Regions from separate parts of the Homo sapiens genome. Here region 1 is linked to region 2. The links are contacts of gene promoters, found by promoter capture Hi-C in human tissues and cell types (Jung and others, 2019). All regions are on one chromosome and are shown on one strand. The core of a region is centred on a gene start or on the middle of the fragment in contact, and the rest is flanking DNA. Distances in the headings are between cores, read along the strand shown. Region 1 has its middle 20 kb from the start of FAM168A. Region 2 holds the start of COA4 (cytochrome c oxidase assembly factor 4 homolog).

Region 1 (4,283 bases), core at 533-3,032, 260 kb before region 2:
ATGTTAGAAAGAACTCACCATTAAAACATCTGGACCTGGAGTTTTCTTTGTGGGGAGATTTTTATAAGTAACAGAATCAATTTCTTAAAACAGGACAATTAAGTAGGCTGTTGTTCTAGAATATGGTTGTTTTCTAGAATATAGTTGTTTATAATATCCTCTCACTATAGTTCAATAAATGTAGGCTCTGTAGTGATGGCCTTATTTCCATTCCGAAGGGATAGTTTTTTGTGTCTCCTTTTTCCTTCATCACTCTTGCCAGGAGTTTATCAATTTTGTTTTATTTTTTATTTTTATTTATTTCTTGAGACAGAGTCTCCCTCTGTTGTCCAGGAGTGCAGAGGCGCAATCTCGGCTCACTGCAACCTCTGCCTCCCAGGTTCAAGAGAGTCTCCTGCCTCAGCCACCTCAGCGTGCCACCACGCCTGGCTAATTTTTGTATTTTTAGTAGAGACAGGGTTTCACCATGTTGGCCAGGCTGATCTCGAACTCCTGACCTCTGGTGATCCACCCACCTTGGCCTCCCAAAGTGCTGGGATTACAGACGTGAGCCACCACACCCAGCCAAGTTTACCAATTTTAGTAGTCTTATCAGCTAATTACCTTTTGGTTCTGTTGATCCTCTCTTTCATATCTTGGTTTTCTGTTACTAAATTCCTCTGTCATTTTTTACTACTTTCATCCTTCTACTTTATTTGGACTTAATTTCTGTATGCTTTTCCTAACTACTTGAGGTAGACAGTTCGATAGTAGATTTTTCAGCCATTTTTTATTTCTAATATATGCATTTAAAGCCATAAATTTTACTCTAAGCATGGCTTTAGCTGCTTCTCACAAGTTTTGACTTATTGTATTTTCATTATTATTTGATTCAACTGGTTTTAAATGTTCACTGGGGTTTGTTTTTTGACCCATGGGTTATTTAGTAGTATACTGCTCAATTTCCAAACATTTTGGGATATTCTAGCTTTCTTTTTCTTTTTCTTTTTTTTTTTCCGAGACAGAGTCTTGCTCTGTCACCCAGGCTGGAGTGCCATGGCACGATCTCAGCTCACTGCAACCCCTACCTCCCGGGTTCAAGCGATTCTCCTGCCTCAGCCTCCCGAGTAGCTGGGACTACAGGCGCCCACCACCACACCCGGCTAATTTTTGTATTTTTAGTAGAGACGGGGTTTCATCATGTTGGCAGGCTGGTTTCAAACTCCTGACCTTGTGATCTGCCCACCTTGGACTCCCAAAGTGCTGGGATTACAAGCGTGAGCCACCACACCCAGCCGATATTCTAGTTTTCTTTTTGTTTTTTATTGCTAGCATAATCCATCTGTGGTCATTGAGTATATGCTATATTATATATTTCAGTTCTTTGAAATTTAGTGCTATTTACATTGTGGCCTAGCATATCAATAAGTATTCCAAGTGCACTTGAGTATATGTTCTATAGTTGTTGGTTTCAATGTTCCATATATGTCAATAATAAGGTCAAGTATGTTAAATGTGTTATTCAAATATTCTTTGCCCTTATTGTTTTTTTAATTTGCATATTCTATCAGTTACAGAGAGAGGTGTGTTAAAATCTCTCACATGTTATCATGGATACGTCTGTTTCTTCTTGAGAAATAGGTCCTGCCCTAGAACCTTGCACAGATGAGTGTGAGGGACTGACACATAATGAGACAATAACTGTGAGAATGTTTAGACATTCTGGCAGAGAAAAATCCAGTAAACACTCAAAGTTTTGTTCCTACTGAACTCCTGGAAGTTCCCTGAATGCAGATTTTGTTTTTCCCTATAAGACTATGGTGGTTGCTGGGTGCAGTTGCTCAGGCCTCTAATCCCAGTACTTTGGGAGGCCAAGGTGGGCAGATCACTTGAGGTCAGGAGTTTGGGACCAGCCTGGCCAATAAGGTGAAACCCCGTCTCTACTAAAAACACAAAAATTAGCTGGGCATGGTGGCACACACCTGTAGTCCCAGCTACTTAAGAGGCTGAGGCAGGAGAATTGCTTGAACCCAGGAGGCGGAAGTTACAGTGAGCCGAGATTGCGCCACTGCACTCCAGCCTGGGCGACAGAGTGACACTCCATCTCAGAAAAAAAAAATGACTATGGTGGTTAATTTTATGTGTCAACTTGACTGAAATAGAGGATGCCCAGACATTTGGCTAACCATTGTCTTGATGTAGCTGTGAGGGTTTCTGGAAGAGATTAACATTTGAATCCGAAAACTAAATAAAGCCCTAATGTCGGTGGGCCTCATACAATCAGTTGAAGACCTGAACAGAACGAAAAGGCTAAGTAAGAGGAAACTCCTCCTGCTTGACTACTTGAGCTGGATGGGTATCAGGTCTTTTCCTACCTTTGGAGACAGGCTGAAACTTCAGCTTTTCTTGAGTCTCAAACCTGCTGGCTTTCAGGCCACATTGGTGCTCCAGGTACTCCTGGGTCTTCATGTTCTGACTGCGGATTTTGGGACTTCTAAGCCTCCATAAGAGCATGAGCCAGTTCCCGTGTGTGTGTGTGTGTGTGTGTGTGTGTGTGTGTGTGTGTGTGTGTGGTGGGAGTGGTTATCAAAATGGACAGCAGAGTCAAAGCAGCAATGAGAATAGTCTGATGTGCACAGATCTATGGCGTTGGCTAGCTGAGCATGGTGTTCCTAGAAGTGAAATAGATAGGAAGCCTACTAAATTCTTACTTGATCTGTAGAAAGCAGAAAAGTACTAGGTTAAGTGGACAAAAGTCTAACTCAAATCATAAAAACAGAGAGCTGCAGAAGCTCAATCAATTCCCAGGCTTAAGCCAGTTTATAAGCCCAGAACCCCTTAAATGGAGGGGAGACCAGGTTCCCTTCAGGAACCTGAAGCCTGATATACAGCCCCAAATTTATACTGTCAATCTTTTATTTTCTTTTTCCCAATACACAGTGACCGTGGTGAAAGGTGAAAGTGACCCTTTCACCAGGGTCACTGTGTGTTGGGAAAAAGAAAATAATCAGACCTTTTGGGGACTCCTGGACACTGACTGAACTGGCACTAATTCCAGGTGGCCTAAAATGTCATGGTGGTCCATCAGTCAAAATAGGGGCTTATGGATGTCAGGTGGAATTTTAGCTCAGGTCCGTCTCACAGTGGGCCCAGTGGGTCCCCAAACCCATCCTCTGATTATGTCCCCAGTTCTGTGCATAATTGGAGTAGACTCACTCTGCAGCTGGCAGAATCCCTACATTGGTTCCCTAACCTATAAAGTGAGGATTATTGTGATGGGAAAGGCCAAATGGAAGCCACTAGAACTGCTTCTACTTAGGAAGCTAGTAAAACAAAAGCAATACCACATTCCTGGAGGGACTGCAGAGATCAATATCTCAATCAAGAACTTGAAAGATTAAGGCATAGTGATCTTCAGGGGTGGAGGTACCCACCAAATCCCCATTCAACTTGCCCATTTGGCCTGTGAGGAAGCCAGATAAATCTTAGAGAATGATGGTGGATTATTGTAAACTTAACCAGGTGGTGACTCCAGTTGAAACTGCTATACCAGATGTGGTTTCATTGCTTGAGCAAATTAACGTATCCTATATGTGGTACCTGGTATGCAACTATTATCTGGCAAATGTGTTTTTCTCTATCCTTGTGAATAAGGACCACCAGAAGTAGTTTGCTTTCAGCTGGCAAAGCCAACAATACACCTTCACTATCACACTTCAGGCGTACATCAACTCTTCAGCTCTATTTCATAATTTAATTTGCAGGGATCTTGATTGTCTTTCCCTTCCACGAGGTATCACACTGGTCCAATACATTCATGACAATATCTTGATTGGATCTAGTAAGCGAGAAGTAGCAACTACTCTAGATTTATTAGTAAGACATTTGCATGTCAGAGGATGAGAAATAAATCTAACAAAATTTCAGAGGTCTTCTATTTCAGTGAAATTTCTAGGGGTCCAGTGGTGTGGGGCATGTCAAGATATTCCTTCTGAGGTTAAACTTGTTGCATCTGGCCCCTCTTACAATGAAAAGCAAGCACAATGTGTAGTGGGCCACTTTGTATTTTACAGGCAACATATTCCTCATTTGGGTGTGTTTGGCCCAAATGAGGGACATTTACCAAGTGACCTGAAACACTGCAAATTTTGAGTGGATCCCACAATGAGAGAAGGCTCTGCAACAGGTTCAAGCTGCTGTGCAAGCTGCTCTGCGCTTGGGCCATATGAACCAATGGAACTTCAAGTGTCAGTGGCAGATAGGGATGCAGTTTGGAGACTTTGGCAGGGCCCTGTAGCTGAACC
Region 2 (3,889 bases), core at 1,281-3,780:
TATGCCTGTAATGCCAGCTACTCAGGAGGCTGAAGCAGGAGAGCCGAGGTTGAACTCGGGAGGCGGAGGTTGCGGAGAGCCGAGATCACACCATTGCACTCCAGCCTGGGCAATAAGAGCAAAACTCCATCTCAAAAAAAAAGAAAAAAGAAAAAAAATGTAAAAATTAGCTGGGCATAGTGGCACACACTTGTAGTCCCAGGTACTCAAGAGGCTGAAGAGGGAGAATCCTTTGAGCCCAGGAGTTCAAAGGCTGCAGTGAGCTATGATGGTGCCACTGTACTCCAGCTTAGGTGACATAGTGAGACCCTGTTTCAAATAAATAACCTTTCTTCTTTTATCCTACTAGCCTTATTCTATGCTGAAGAACAAAGTTTAAAAAGTGAAAGAGGCTGGGTGCAGTGGCTCACACATGTAATCCCAGCAATTTGGGAGCCCGAGGCAGATGGATCATAAGGTCAGAAGTTCAAGACCAGCCTGGCCGGGATGATGAAACCCCGTCTCTACTAAAAATACAAAAATTAGGCGGGCGTGATGGCAGGCACCTGTAATCCCAGCTACTCGGGAGGCTCAGGCAGGAGAATCGCTTTAACCCAAGGGGCGGAGGTTGTAGTGAGCCAAAGATCGTGCCACTGCACTCCAGCCTGGGTGACAGAGTGAGACTCCATCTCCAAAACAAACAAACAAACAAAGTGAAAGAGTGCCCAAATATGGGTAGGTTTTGACACATGGGAAGGATGGAAAGAGTTCACTGTGGCTGTAGCATACAGTATGCAGAAACCTGGCCTCTGGGTCTATAAGGTGAGATGGCTTTGTAAACTATACAAAAATGTGAGGTGTATTTATTTGCCCAAACTGTCTTGCCCGTCTGCATCAGAACACTCAGCAGAAAGCAGCATACAGAAGGAACTTAAGGTTTGAAGAGAAATGACTTCAGCCTTTGCAAAAATTTCACCATGATGGGCTGTAAAGCAACTAGGACTCCTTATTGCCTTAACTGTGTCTCTCATTCACTCAACAAATGATTAAGTACCTATCATGTACCAGGCACTATGCTAGTGCTGAGGATTCAAGACTGTCTAAGTCAGTTAAGTTCCTGGCTTCATGGAGTTTACAACCTAGACAAGGAAACAGGGCAGTTTACTACACAGTGTACAGATAGCAAAGACTGGGACCACAGTGGAGGGATGCCTAATCCAGACAAGGGCAGGAATAGGCAGGGAAGGCTTCCTAGAGGAAGTGATTTCCAAGCTGAAACTTGACAGATGGAACAGAAGTTAGCCAGAGATGGGAAAACTATTTTTGGTCAATGGAAGAGCAGGTGGTTGAGATAGAATCTGACACATGAGAGCAAAAAAAAAAAAAAGTTCAGTGATGGGAGAATACAGTGTGAGAATAAGACAATATTAAACTGGCGATATAAGTAAGTGATCATCACAAGGCTTTGTAGGACATAGTAGGGAGTTTAAGACTTTTTATTCTGAGGGCAATGGGGAATCACAAGAGGGAGTTAGGCACTTTACACAACTCATTTGCCTTGGAGGCGGTATAACTTAAGCAAGAGGGAGAAAATGGGCTTTGAAACAGACTTGGACCTAGCTTTGTCACTGCCTCATTTGGTGCCCTTGGACACATCATTTAATAACCTCTCTGGAAGCACAGAGATGAAGCCGGGTGCCATGGCTCACGCCTGTAATCCCAACACTGGGAGGCTGAGGCGGGAGGATGGTTTGCGCCCAGCCTGGGCAACACTGTGAGCCGTGATCACGCCACTGCATTCCAGCCTGGGTTACAGCGGGAGACCCTGTCTCAAAAAAAAAAAAAAAGAAAAAAAAAAAGGTAAGGTTTGTAAGGAGGCTGGTATGTCTAAAGAGTTCAATAAATGATAGTTTTCTCTTCCTAAATACACTGTTAACTCTTTAAATAGGGCCAGGAGCAAATAATTTAGAGAAAGAACAGTGGAATAGAAAGTGCCTTGATCCTAAACCAAGAGATCCGTGTTCAAATCCCAGCACTACGCCTTACTATGTAATCTTTTTCATTTTAGTTTTCCCATTAATAATATTTAATTCGCACAATTAGAATGAAGATTAATATAACGAATGAAAAGCGCTTGGGCTACTATAGGACTCAGTAAATGCTGCTGTACTCTCCTCTCACCACCTTTTGGCTTCAGTCTCCTCTGGAGTAAAATGACGACGACCCCTGCTCAGAGATCAGGGTAGGCTAGATGGTTGGCAGCTGGATCGTGGAGGCTGGCCTAAACAAGGAAGTCATGGAAAGGATCTTAAAGCAGAAAAATGCTGGCAGCCACGAGGCCTGAGGCGCCTCAGGCGTATCGAGGACTTTGAACTTTGAGGACGCATGCGCGCGCGCGGCCGCTGATCGCAGCCCCGTTGTGCCCGCAACGCCTCCTGAAGAACGCGGTACGCGATGCTCACCGAACAGGTGGGAGAAGAGGGCCCGAACGCACGCTCCTACGCGGCGGCTTGGGTTTCGCAGGCGGTTGGGGATCCTCTGTACATCCTTTCAGGAACCAGCCCCTCGTGGGGAGCGTGCACACGGAAGGGGCGGGGAATGTGAAAAAGTCACGTTTTCATTGGTGGCCTCTTGGTGTTGAGCCCACCTCTGTCCTCGCCGCACGCTTCTCGGGGACTCACTTCCGGGAAGGGGCGGAAGAGGTGGGCTGGTGGAGGCGGGGTCGAGATGGCGGCGCCTTTGAGGATTCAGAGCGACTGGGCGCAAGCCCTCAGGTGAATCCAGGCCCAGAACAGAGTCAGAGGAGGCGGGTAGTGGATGTTGCTTTGCGTCAAGGAGAGCCATGCCTGGTCCAGGATATCAATAGGGGTTACTTCGTCAATTGTCGAGGGATATGGAGGGAACAGGGTCCGGAAAAAGAAGTATCAAACCCGTATGGTCATTCTCTGAAAAGCTATCCCTAGGCCAAGGGAGCACATGAGCTGTGTGATCCCCGCGTCAGAACTAGTATCAGTGAGTTGGAGAAAGACAGGGATACTGGGAGGCAGGAAGGCTTTTGGCCAAGCAGTCATTTAGCAAATATTGATTAGTCGTCAGTTACTTCCAGAAGTCTCTGTACTCACCACCACTTTGTGTATGTGATGGAACCTTTGTATTCTCCTAGGCCCCTAATGCTATATTAGGCATACTGGACGATACTATTAAGGAAACTAATACTGTGTCCAGGCCCCATACTGGATGCTTGGTGGAGCTCAGATGTATACTCTAAATATAAGTGATGGTTCCTGCTCTTCAAGAAGCTGACATCCAGGCCAGGCGCAGTGGCTCATGCCTGTAATCCCAGCACTTTGGAAAACTGAGATTGGTGGATCAGTTGAGGTCAGAAGTTCGAGACCAGCCTGACCAACATGGTGAAACTCCGTCTCTACTAAAAATACAGAAATTAGTCGGGCTTGGTGGTGGGCGCCTATAATCCCAGCTACTCGGGAGGCTGAGGCAGGAGAATCGGTTGAACCCAGGAGGTGGAGGTTGCAGTGAGCCGAGATTGCACCACTGCACTCCAGCCTGGGTGACAGAGCGATACTCATCTCAAAAAAGAAGAAAAGCTGACGTCTTAATTAGGAATACACAGCAAACTATTCATTCATCTAACATTTATTGATCTTATACTATTCCAGTTATTTCTCTAGGCTTCAGGATGAATATAGCAGTGCTATATTTGGCAACTGCTACTACTAATAAGGGTTTTTCAAATTGAAACAATGGTGAAGATGAATGAAACATAGCCTTCTGCATTTAAGAAATTTACACCTTACTAAATTTATACCTTACTTAATTTAGGTGGGCTAAAATACAGACTAGTTGCTAGTACACAGAATGTGATAAGTAATAAAGAACAATAACATGAAGT

Evidence for each region. The method cuts DNA at HindIII sites, captures the fragments that hold promoters and counts their contacts. A contact is called where the count stands out against the background at its distance.
Region 1: a fragment that was not itself captured here is called in contact with the fragment with the promoter of COA4 in region 2 in 1 of the 25 tissues and cell types used here (mesendoderm cells).

What each region holds. Positions count from the first base shown.
Region 1 is chr11:73,616,378-73,620,660 of GRCh38, forward strand. No RefSeq gene overlaps it. Among named protein-coding and RNA genes, the nearest start is that of FAM168A, 20 kb to the left of the region's middle. The HindIII fragment of the contact is 9,742 bases long and covers 1-4,283 here.
Region 2 is chr11:73,874,316-73,878,204 of GRCh38, forward strand. COA4 (cytochrome c oxidase assembly factor 4 homolog) reads right to left here and starts at 2,531. Exons shown (of 2, transcript NM_016565.3): 1 at 2,442-2,531. PAAF1 (proteasomal ATPase associated factor 1) reads left to right here and starts at 2,684. Exons shown (of 12, transcript NM_025155.3): 1 at 2,684-2,753. The coding sequence starts at 2,707. RefSeq lists enhancers at 2,782-2,831, 2,852-2,921. The HindIII fragment of the contact is 11,350 bases long and covers 1-3,889 here.